2 separate regions of the Homo sapiens genome follow, and region 1 is linked to region 2. Evidence: promoter capture Hi-C in 16 types of primary human blood cells and fetal thymus (Javierre and others, 2016). All regions are on one chromosome and are shown on one strand. The core of a region is centred on a gene start or on the middle of the fragment in contact, and the rest is flanking DNA. Distances in the headings are between cores, read along the strand shown. Region 1 has its middle 35 kb from the start of LINC01922. Region 2 holds the start of ZNF516 (zinc finger protein 516).

Evidence for each region. The method cuts DNA at HindIII sites, captures the fragments that hold promoters and counts their contacts. A CHiCAGO score of 5 or more calls a contact.
Region 1: a fragment that was not itself captured here is called in contact with the fragment with the promoter of ZNF516 in region 2 in 1 of 17 cell types (naive CD8 T cells); the score reaches 6.1 in naive CD8 T cells.

The regions. Positions count from the first base shown.
Region 1 is chr18:74,372,222-74,377,335 of GRCh38, reverse strand. No RefSeq gene overlaps it. Among named protein-coding and RNA genes, the nearest start is that of LINC01922, 35 kb to the left of the region's middle. The HindIII fragment of the contact is 151 bases long and covers 2,488-2,638 here.
Region 2 is chr18:76,492,800-76,497,362 of GRCh38, reverse strand. ZNF516 (zinc finger protein 516) reads left to right here and starts at 2,121. Exons shown (of 7, transcript NM_014643.4): 1 at 2,121-2,219. It overlaps ZNF516-DT (ZNF516 divergent transcript), which reads right to left and starts at 2,024. Exons shown (of 2, transcript NR_164145.1): 1 at 1,577-2,024; 2 at 1-1,084. It overlaps ZNF516-AS1 (ZNF516 antisense RNA 1), which reads right to left. Exons shown (of 2, transcript NR_136504.1): 2 at 3,445-4,563. RefSeq lists silencers at 2,012-2,071, 2,202-2,301, 3,002-3,091 and an enhancer at 4,190-4,329. The HindIII fragment of the contact is 7,170 bases long and covers 1-3,336 here.

The DNA.
Region 1 (5,114 bases), core at 1,314-3,813, 2.1 Mb after region 2:
CACACACACACACACACACACACACACACACACACACGTCCTTAATGAAGAGATAATATTTAAACGTTGTAAATTTAAAGTTCCTGCGATTTCCTGCCTCCTAAGGGATAGAAACTTGAATTTATTTTTGAGGCCTTCTTTCTTCTTGGAAATCACCCCAGTGGGGAATGAACCTCCTCCAGGAAGAAGATATAATGTGGCTTAGGCTCCAAGGAGCTAACCCCTTTGGATAATAATGTAAAGGTTGTGATTACGGTGTCAGAGTTACATTGCTGCAGATTGTGTTTCTTTAGAATAATTTTTTAGAATAATTTTCTTTCCCAAATATGGCTATAGACCACAATGTGCAAATATTTTATTGCTTATTTTTGTGGAGTTGGTGCATATCTCCTCACAGGCGGTCCCTAGAGAAGTTCCCCATGCTGTAGGAAACCCTGACAGCTTGGCCTTCTCTTCACTTCTCTGCAGTGGGGGAGAGATCATTGTAAAGGAAAAAGAGAAAGACAGGAGGAAAAGTAAGTTAAGGTCAGGTCGGGGGAAAAACAAAGGGAAGGAATGAACTGGGCTTGGGGCTGTGCAACTTACAAAAGGGAAGGAATGAACTGGGCTTGGGGCCGTGCTATGCAAAAAGGAAGGAATGAACTGGGCTTGGGACCGTGCAGCTTGCAAAAGGGAAGGAATGAACTGGGCTTGGGGCCGTGCTACTTGCACTAGGTTACTGGTGTTTCATCTGTTGTGTTGTTTAGAAAGGACAATCCAGCCTTTGGGAAATGTACCAATGCTGGGCCATGCACCCTAATAATTTGGAAGACTGTGGGGCTGGATTATCCCAACTAAATTTCACAAATAAATTTTTCTTCTAAAATAAGTGGTTATAACCACTGCTGATTACCCTGGGAAGGGGTCACTAGTCCATGGCAACTGCAGCCCAGAGTGGAATGAAGAGAAGGAGGTGGAAGCTCGTGAGGGAGCTGTTCTGTAACCTCCACTGCTTACTCGCTTCTTTAATGACTTGCAAGTGACTCAGATCCAACATACACAACAGTAAACCCATGAAGTTCTTTCATGCCCTCCCCTACCCATGTTTATCACCCTGGATTTTGCCATCTCCGTGAATGGGACCATCATCCACCTGCTTGCCCATGGCAGTAACCTCAAAACTGCGCATGACTCATTGCTTTCTCCATCGTCTCTGGATCTCATTAATGATCTGCTAGTGATCTCATGCTTCTGGCCATGAGGGAGTAAGACGGCCTGTGATCTCCCTCCCTCTGTAAGCAACTATAAAAAAAGGATAAAATATAGAAAGCCACTATTTGGATATAGGGCAAAACAAGACTGTGATTCCTGAGAAAAAGGAAGAAGACAAGGTAAGCCCTACCATCAGCTGGCCTTTCTGCCTAGAGATAAGTCCTGGGCTACAGTCCAGGGAGGGAGAACTCCAAAAAAGTGAGGCAGCTTCACAGAGCTGCAGAGACAGAGGTCAGAGATGGGGAAGGCCAGGCGGCTCTGTGAAGAACCTGTGAGGCAGAGTTCTCAAGGGAAGGGGCTACACAGATAAAAGTACTCCGGAAATCTGCACATGAGTTCATGGAATCTTTTTAAAACAGAAGTCTATAGAAATATAAGGCCAGATAAGAAAAGCTTCTGGTGAAAGAGTAATTATGAGGAGTTCTTTTTTTTTTTTTTTTTGAGATGGAGTCTCACTCACTCTGTCGCCCAGGCTGGAGTGCAGTGGCATGATCTCAGCTCATTGCAACCTCCACCTCCCATGTTCAAGTGATTCTCATGCCTTATCCTTTTGAGTAGCTGGGATTACAGGCACCCACCACCACACCCAGCTAATTTTTATATTTTTAGTAGAGATGAAGTCTCACCATGCTGGCCAGGCTGGTCTCAAACTCCTGGCCTCAAGTGATCTGCCAGCCTCGGCCTCCCAAAGCACTGGGATTACAGGCATGAGCCACTGCACCTGGTGAGGAGTTCTAAAATGAACAATTCCCTAAAATTGCAAAGCCAAAAATCACTCAAGTTCCCTCCAGCCAGAGAGAGAGACCTCACTGAATATATGGGGCATTTAGAACAAGCCCCAGAAAGGCCATGACTTAGAAGAGGAGTCAAATCAGTCCTGGAATAAAGGCTACTCTAGGCCCCAAAAAGCTTATAAGTAAACCTCAAGGGAATCAAACTAATTTCTGAATAATTTATAGAACAAGTAGATAAAAAATCAGTAAGGATATAGAAGACTCGAACACAGTATTAATCAATTGACCTCACTGACATGTATAGATGGCTTTACTCAACAACAGCAGAACACATATTTTTCATAAGTGCTTGTAAAACATTCGCTATACCAGATCATACATTAGGCTATAAAATAAGCTTACATAAATTTAAAATAGTAACCACAGTGGAATAAAACTAAATAGCAATAAGAGAAAGGTATAATATATGGAAAAGCCACAAATATTTGGAAATTAATAAGCTTCTAAATGGAAATTGGAAAGTATTTCAAACTGAATGAAAATGAAAATATAACATGTCAAAATTGTGAGATATAGCTAAAGCAGTGATTTGAGGATTATAGCATTTCATGCTTTTATTGGCAAAGAGAAGTCTAAGGTCAGTCATCTAAGCTTTTACCATATTCAGTTAATAGTAAATCCTGTCAATTGTACTTCCTAAATAACTCTTAATCAGTTTCCTTCCCTCTGTCCTGCTGTCACAGCCTCCTGATCCCCCTATCTTAAGTCATCTCCAACCCCAAATTCCCAGTTCTTTCTTGTCAGCTGCACCTCTCACCACTACTTTCTCCTTGCACTTCAGCCTTACTGATGTCTCTAGTTCCTTAAAGCTCTCATGGTCTTCTCTGGGTCATCTCACACACATTTTCCTTGCCTGACCACTCTTTTATTTCCAATTCACCCTGCTAATTCCCACCCATGGAATTTCTCTTCTTTCTGGAAGGCTGGGTCCTGCTATACGCTTCCGTTCTAGCTCATTGTACTTCCTTTGTGGTGGCATTTAACCTATGCTCGTGATTTCTTTAATTGTCTGTCTTCCCCAGCAGCTGGGTCTCGTCTTGTATATCACATTGTGTATCTGTCCCCTTGCACACTTTCTGGCACTTATTGAGTGCTTAACATCTATTTGACAAATGAATGAAAGCCTATTTTAGTGGAAATATGACCACTTAATTTGTAGTTACAGGTTGAGAAGATCAGCATTCCTGGATCACAGTTCGCAGTCAACATTGGGCATCTCCCAGCATCCATTTGTCTTTCTTTTTTAATAACCGCCCTGAATTCTGTTGGGGGCTCATGAGGTTCCTGAGAAGCCACTTATCCCAGCTCAAGTAGTTGCTCAAATATTCATCATTGAGAAAACAGATCTGTTTTTGTGGCTTCAGTTACTTAAAACTATCATTTCTCAGTTAAATATGTTATTGGGATTCCCTGGAAGTGTACAGGGTCCTCCCATTAAGTCATCCCCCTTTAATGAGCGGTACTGGGGTGAAGGTATCTGGCAGGTTCCTGTTAGGCTTTTCTGGCTTGACTATTTACTTTTTTTTTTTTTAATTATACTTTAAGTTTTAGGGTACATGTGCACAACGTGCAAGTTTGTTACATATGTATTAGCTTCGCATGTTCAAAAGGATGTGGGTGCTTACCTAGTGCCCTAGAAACAGCACAAGCCATAACGTGACGTCTCTGAGTGAAACAGGCCTAAAGCCACAAAGGAGATAAAACAGATAAGGTAAGAATAAGACGAGAAAATCAAAGTGGAATTAACCTAAATTTAACACTATCACTCCTGTGGTATCTGCACATATCAAACAAAAGGAAATAGCTATCTGGCTTGACGGCAAAATGCCGTGCCTCGTGCCACCTTTTTTAAAAAAACAATAATATGAATGATTTTTTCCTTGATAATACAAATAATTCATATTCATTATGGAAAATTTGGACACTTTTTAAAAGTATTTAAAAATGGGTCACCCAAAATAATACACAAAATACCCACTGGTAATGTCTTTTTTTTTTTTTTTTTTGAGACAGAGTCTTGCTCTGTTGCCCAGACTTGAGTGGAATGACATGATCTCAACTCACTGCAACCTCCGCCTCCCAGGTTCAAGCAATTCTCTTGCCTCAGCCTCCCAAGCAGCTGAGATTATAGGTGCCCACCACCATGCTGGGCTAATTTTTGTATTTTTAGTAGAGGCGGCTTTCACCATGTTGGTCAAGCTAGTCTCAAACTCCTGACCTCAAATGATCTGCCCACCTCGGCCTCCCATGAGCCACTGCGCCCAGCCCATTGGGAATGTCTTGTTGCATTTCTTTTCATAACTTTTTATACATATACAGACAGATGTGTATTTTTCTTTTCAAAATTAAAATTTTTTTGTACATTACTTTTTTCACATACATCATAACCCAAAAAAGTGATTTTTGGCTGGGCGTGGTGGCTCACACCTGTAATCCCAGCGCTTTGGGAGGCCGAGGCAGGCAGATCACGAGGTCAGGAGTTCGAGACCAGCCTGGCCACCATGGTGAAACCCCGTCTCTACTAAAAATACAAAAATTATCTAGGCGTGGTGGCGAGCGCCTGTAATCCCAGCTACTCAGGAGGCTGAGGCTGGAGAATCATCTGAACCCGGCAGGCAGAGGTTGCAGTGAGCCAAGATCACACCATTGCAATCCAGCCTGGGCCATAGAGCAAGACTCTGTCTCAAAAAAAAAAGAAAAATAATTTTTATGACTTTCTATTTTGTGGATATGCTATAACTATTTAAACAACAATTTTTCTATTGTTGCACATTTAGGTTGCTCCTATTTTTTACTAATATAAATTACTCTGTGTGAGCATCTCGGCTTGAATCACAGGTCACCTTCCCCTCTTGTGTTCTGGGTCATCTTTTGCTTTCTCAAGGACCTCATCCCTGCAGTTAGTCACGTTCTCTCCTGCTCCATCAATGTCTCTCTCTCCCATGAATTCTTCCCATCTGCACACACATTCTCTAATAGCTTCCATCATAAATGAACAAAAGCCCTCGTCTCACCCTGCATTCCCTTCCAGCTTTACACTGATATCTCTGGCTCCCTTGAAAGCTACAC
Region 2 (4,563 bases), core at 872-3,371:
CAGCTGCCATTTTCTAGGTCTGCCACACCAGACACCAGGACTTAACTCTTTGCCCATCCATCAAATTACGCTCTCAGATTTCGCATGCACTGTAGATAAACGTGTAAGAAAGGAAATGGTTTAAAAGCACAATATTATTGTAGACAGACAATGCCCTGAGTGAAATCACATGTGGGTGACTTAAGACAGGGCCCTAAACCGGCTAGAAAAAGGAAGCAAGTCATGAACAGTTTTATGTGGAGGGGTTTGGAAGTCTTGATCACCATTCAATGATCTACCTTGTCCATTTTCAACACATGGAAATTGTTAGCGCAAGTTTGTACTTTAAAATAGACCCAAGAATGCAGATGAACGTAGGTTTACAGGACTGATATTCATTCCAAAATCCTACCAAAAAGCTATTAAAGTGTCTTCAAATTTTAATCTTTGTTGTTACCTACATGTATGTAATAATATGTGTATACAAGGACATTTACGGCTTTGTAATTAACTGAATTTGGGGATACTTTCTTTGTGCATTTTCACAGTGTACTGAAATGAATGGTGGGCACGTCAATACTTTTCGGTGAATCAGACTTAAACGTGATTGCTGAAGAATACATCCCACTTAGGCATTCATGCTGAAGCCAGCAACAATTGTCCGTGACCTTTAACATGCCCGCTCTCCAAATCAGTGCAGGTCGTTAGTCACACGGAGCTTACATTTGAGGACTCGCGGATCCTTCATAGCGGAGGTTGTCCCTGTCTTTCTGCCTGACTCCCCCCCGCCCCCCGACCCCGACACACACTCCCCACCGCCCCCAGAAACATCACACATGCAGAATGCCCCCCCCGTCTGATCGCCAGCTTTCGGGCACATGCGCCTCCCTTTGCAGCGCGTCTGGAGTAGTTTCTTTTGTAAACGCCCTAAGTTGGGGAGGGCCGCGGGCTGCGAGTGTGAGGCGCAGAGAGAGACGCCGCCGCTGAGGTAACCGCCAGGATTGCAGCGCTGATTGCTACGCGGAGCCACGTTGGGCGTCTTGGACGGAATCCACCTCCACTGCGGAGTTATCACGAGGAGAAGGAGAACAATACGGCCAGGAGCCTGGTGGGAGAAGATAGTGTTACCCCTCCGCAGGCCGCAGCTCCCCGGGTCTACGTCACCGGCCGTGAAGGGGCGCTCGCCCTCGCTAGCTCCGACCCGCCCCTCCCCCGCCCCCGCGCGCCCGCCCTCCCCTCCCCCACCCCGGCCATCCCTGCCCTGTAACAGGAGAGCGTTTTGGAGTCAAATTAGGATTTCTAGTCCCAGACTCAACTTATTACAACTAACTACTGCTCGTGGGGAGTAGGTGAGGTGAAGAAATGAAGTTTTAAGAACAGAAAAATAAGAGTTGAACTTTCGAGGCTACCGGTAAACAACCCCTTCATTTTTAAATGGCCGGGTGGCAGAGCCGCTGTTTGAAGTCTTTCCAGCGGGACCTCTGTGACCCTTGATTCAGGACTTAATGTATTGATCCTGCATCTGAACACCCCCAGAGGCATTTACCAGGAAGTTGAGTGACACGCACACGCTACGCCGTGTGTAATGCACACGCACCTGGGACCCCCGAAGGGGTGTCCCCATTTCAGTCCAGATGGGGCGCAGTGCCCAGGTACCCGCCGGCGGGACCCGCATCCCGAGCACGTCTGTACGTATGGATGCGCGTGTGCGCGCGGAAACGGCCTCCGGGAGCCGGGGCTGCAGCAGCCTTAGACCTTGACGAGGGGCGACCACTGGCCGCTGGAACCGTGATTCAGTGCTATTAGGGGAGGAATTGGCTGTGTCTGAGTCACTGCAAGCCTCCAGACTGTCCCCTCAGTGTGGCAGAACTTTGTGCTGATGAGACAATAGTGGAGTGTGCGTTTCCTACAGGGCAGACCATTTCCAGGCTGGGGGAAGCCTCCGGCCTGCGCCGGGCCGTGAGCGCCCGGCCCCCTCCCCGTGCCGCGCAGCCCCCCGAGCCCGGCTCGCGCCGGGGCCCCCGCGGGGCGGACGCGTCCGGGGCGCGCGCGGGCGGCGCGAGGAGGGGGCCGGGCGCGTGGCGGGCCCCGCGCGCCCTCGCGCGTCCCCCGCGCCCGGGCGCAGCTGGCGCGGTCGGTCTAGTGCAGCGCTCGGCTCCGCGCCGCGGGCGCTCGGCTTCACCTTCAGATGCGCGGGGCGTGCGCGTCCTCCTCCCCAGGCCCGCCGCCTCCCTGCCAAGGTAGGGGCCGCGGGCGGGGGGAGGGCTGCGCCGCAGGGGCCGCGGGCGGGCGGTGGGCGCGGGGCCCGGAGCCCCGACGTGCCCCGTACTCTGGTGTGCGCCGCTGGGGGTAGGGGGGGAGGCGCTGGGGAGGGGGGTGCGCCGGGGAGGGGCCCCCCGGGCGCGGGGAGGGCTACTTGGCTTTCCCGGTGGGTAGTTGCTCTGCTCGTCAATTCCAGGATAGGGGAAGATGCAACTTCGGGCGGCGGGGCGAGCGCCCGGGAGGTGGTTTTTACCGCAGTGGAGGGGCGGGGTGGGGGCCGGGGTGGGAGCGCGGAAGAGGCTCTGGCTTTGTACACTTTGTCAAAGGCGACGCGGGAGGAGGGGAGCTCGGATGCGCTCTCCATCCATTAGGAGACAAAGAGCAAATTGCCTTACTTTAAAGTAAAACGCTCCGGCTAATGAAGGTGGGTGATGGGGCTGCGGGCCCGAGGAGCCGCTTCAATTATTAAGGGTTTGGCGGATGGGATCGATGCCTGTGGGCACCGCGCGCTGCTGCCTAGGGGACGTGTTTGCGTGGAGGTGGGGGTGGCCTTGTTTTTTACGGCCCCCTCCCCGGCTGCTTGCCAGTCTGCTGGGAGCTTCTAAGTGACCCTAACGTTAAAGAAGTGAGAGGTCCTGGAAGGGAAGTTCGGGCGGGGGTGGGGGTGGGGGCGAGGGTCTGGCACCGACTCGGAGAGGGGTGGGCAGGGACTCCTCGGAGCTGCGCCCCGCCGGGTGCGGGTGGGGGAGGCCTCGGTGGCGAGATGAACCCGGGTGTATGAAGGAAGAATGCGGTGGGGTGTGTGTGGTTGGGCGGGAGGTGGGGGGAGGCGCCTCCGCTGCCATTTCCAGGGAGAACTAACAGACTGAATAGTTACGATCAGTATTTAGATTAAACCGCCTCAAGTTTTAACGAAACTTTGTATGAATAAGTTTGTTAAATGGCAGCCGAGTGGGGTATTTAAAAGCAGCAGTTTATGTGTGTGGTGAGGAAAGCCAGTGGACCCCCGCAATTAGGGACCAGAGGGAACCAGCCTTTTACCCGAAAAATGTGGGTCTGTAAGTCAGCCTCATCTATTATCAGCGTTAATAAGCTTCCCGCAGCAGACCGGGAGCTCTGGGGGCTGTGTGTGTGTCTTACTCATTCCGCTGATAAAGAGTCACCGGGTCTCCGGGTGTGCAAAGATCAACTTGCGCAGCCCTCTTTTTAAATATATTCATTCTGTGCTTTATTTAATCCAGATGCACAAAAAGCCATTTGCTGCTGCATTGTTGGTTTACATTTTTTGAAAAGGCGACTGGTGTAACCTGTGGAATTTGAAATGCAAATAAGAGCCTGTGGGAGTAGAGGCAGAACAGATCAGCATTTATAAAGTGGAAAAGATTTAATGTCTTTGAAATCATTGCAGGGGAAGAAACTGGAGGGGGAGTGTGATTTTTCAGGGAGTGAATTGTGACGTCAGGTCTTTTTGGAAAAGATGTTATTTTTAAGGTCTGAAACCCGGCTAGGTAAAGTGCTTACAGGAAAAACAGATTACAAGATTAACATCTGTTAACATGATCGTTTATCTCCAGCCAAAAATAGGTCAGTTCTTTCTTAAGGAAACACGATTGCTGGCGCATGCTTAAATAATAAAATCAAAACGGCGAGTTCATAAATTAGGAACGAGTGTTTGTTACAATCTGACCTGTGAAGAAACGTTTTTGAATTTCGAGATCAATGGAAGGTCAAAGTCCCTTTTCGGTGTAGAGAGCAACTCTTTCCCCTGCGTCGGCCCCCGCCCCCCCCCCCGCCCCCCGCGGAATGACCCCTCCTTCTTTCTCGGAGCTCCCTTTCCGCCTCCACTCCCTTCGTGAATTTCCCTTTCCATCCTTTGTGGAAGTACAAAATATATTTAAATGGATATCGTCTGACGCCTCCCTCCTTAAAGAAGGCAAACTCTGCGCAGATGGCTAACTTTCAGAGCTCTGCTGTTGTTTTACCATTAAATGAAACGGTAGGGAGGAGAGGAGGAAAAAAAAAAAAGGAAACAGCTTTGCGAAGTCTCCCTGCCCCCTGGGCGTGAGTGACGGCTCTGCTGGCCAATCCGCAGCGGCTTTCTCCATCCCGGAGGTAATTTGGGGTGTGTGTGTGAGCGCGCGCGTGCGCGTGCATGAGCCCATGTGTCTGCACACTGTGAAGTCTGGCCAGCCCCGCGCATCCGCAGGCTTCTGCATTTACACAGATGTGTGATGTAGACGTGGACACGCTTTTATTCGAGTCAGTTCGGCTACATGGGCACGCAGCAGCCCCCACGGAGCGCCTCCCCCTCCGAACGTTCTG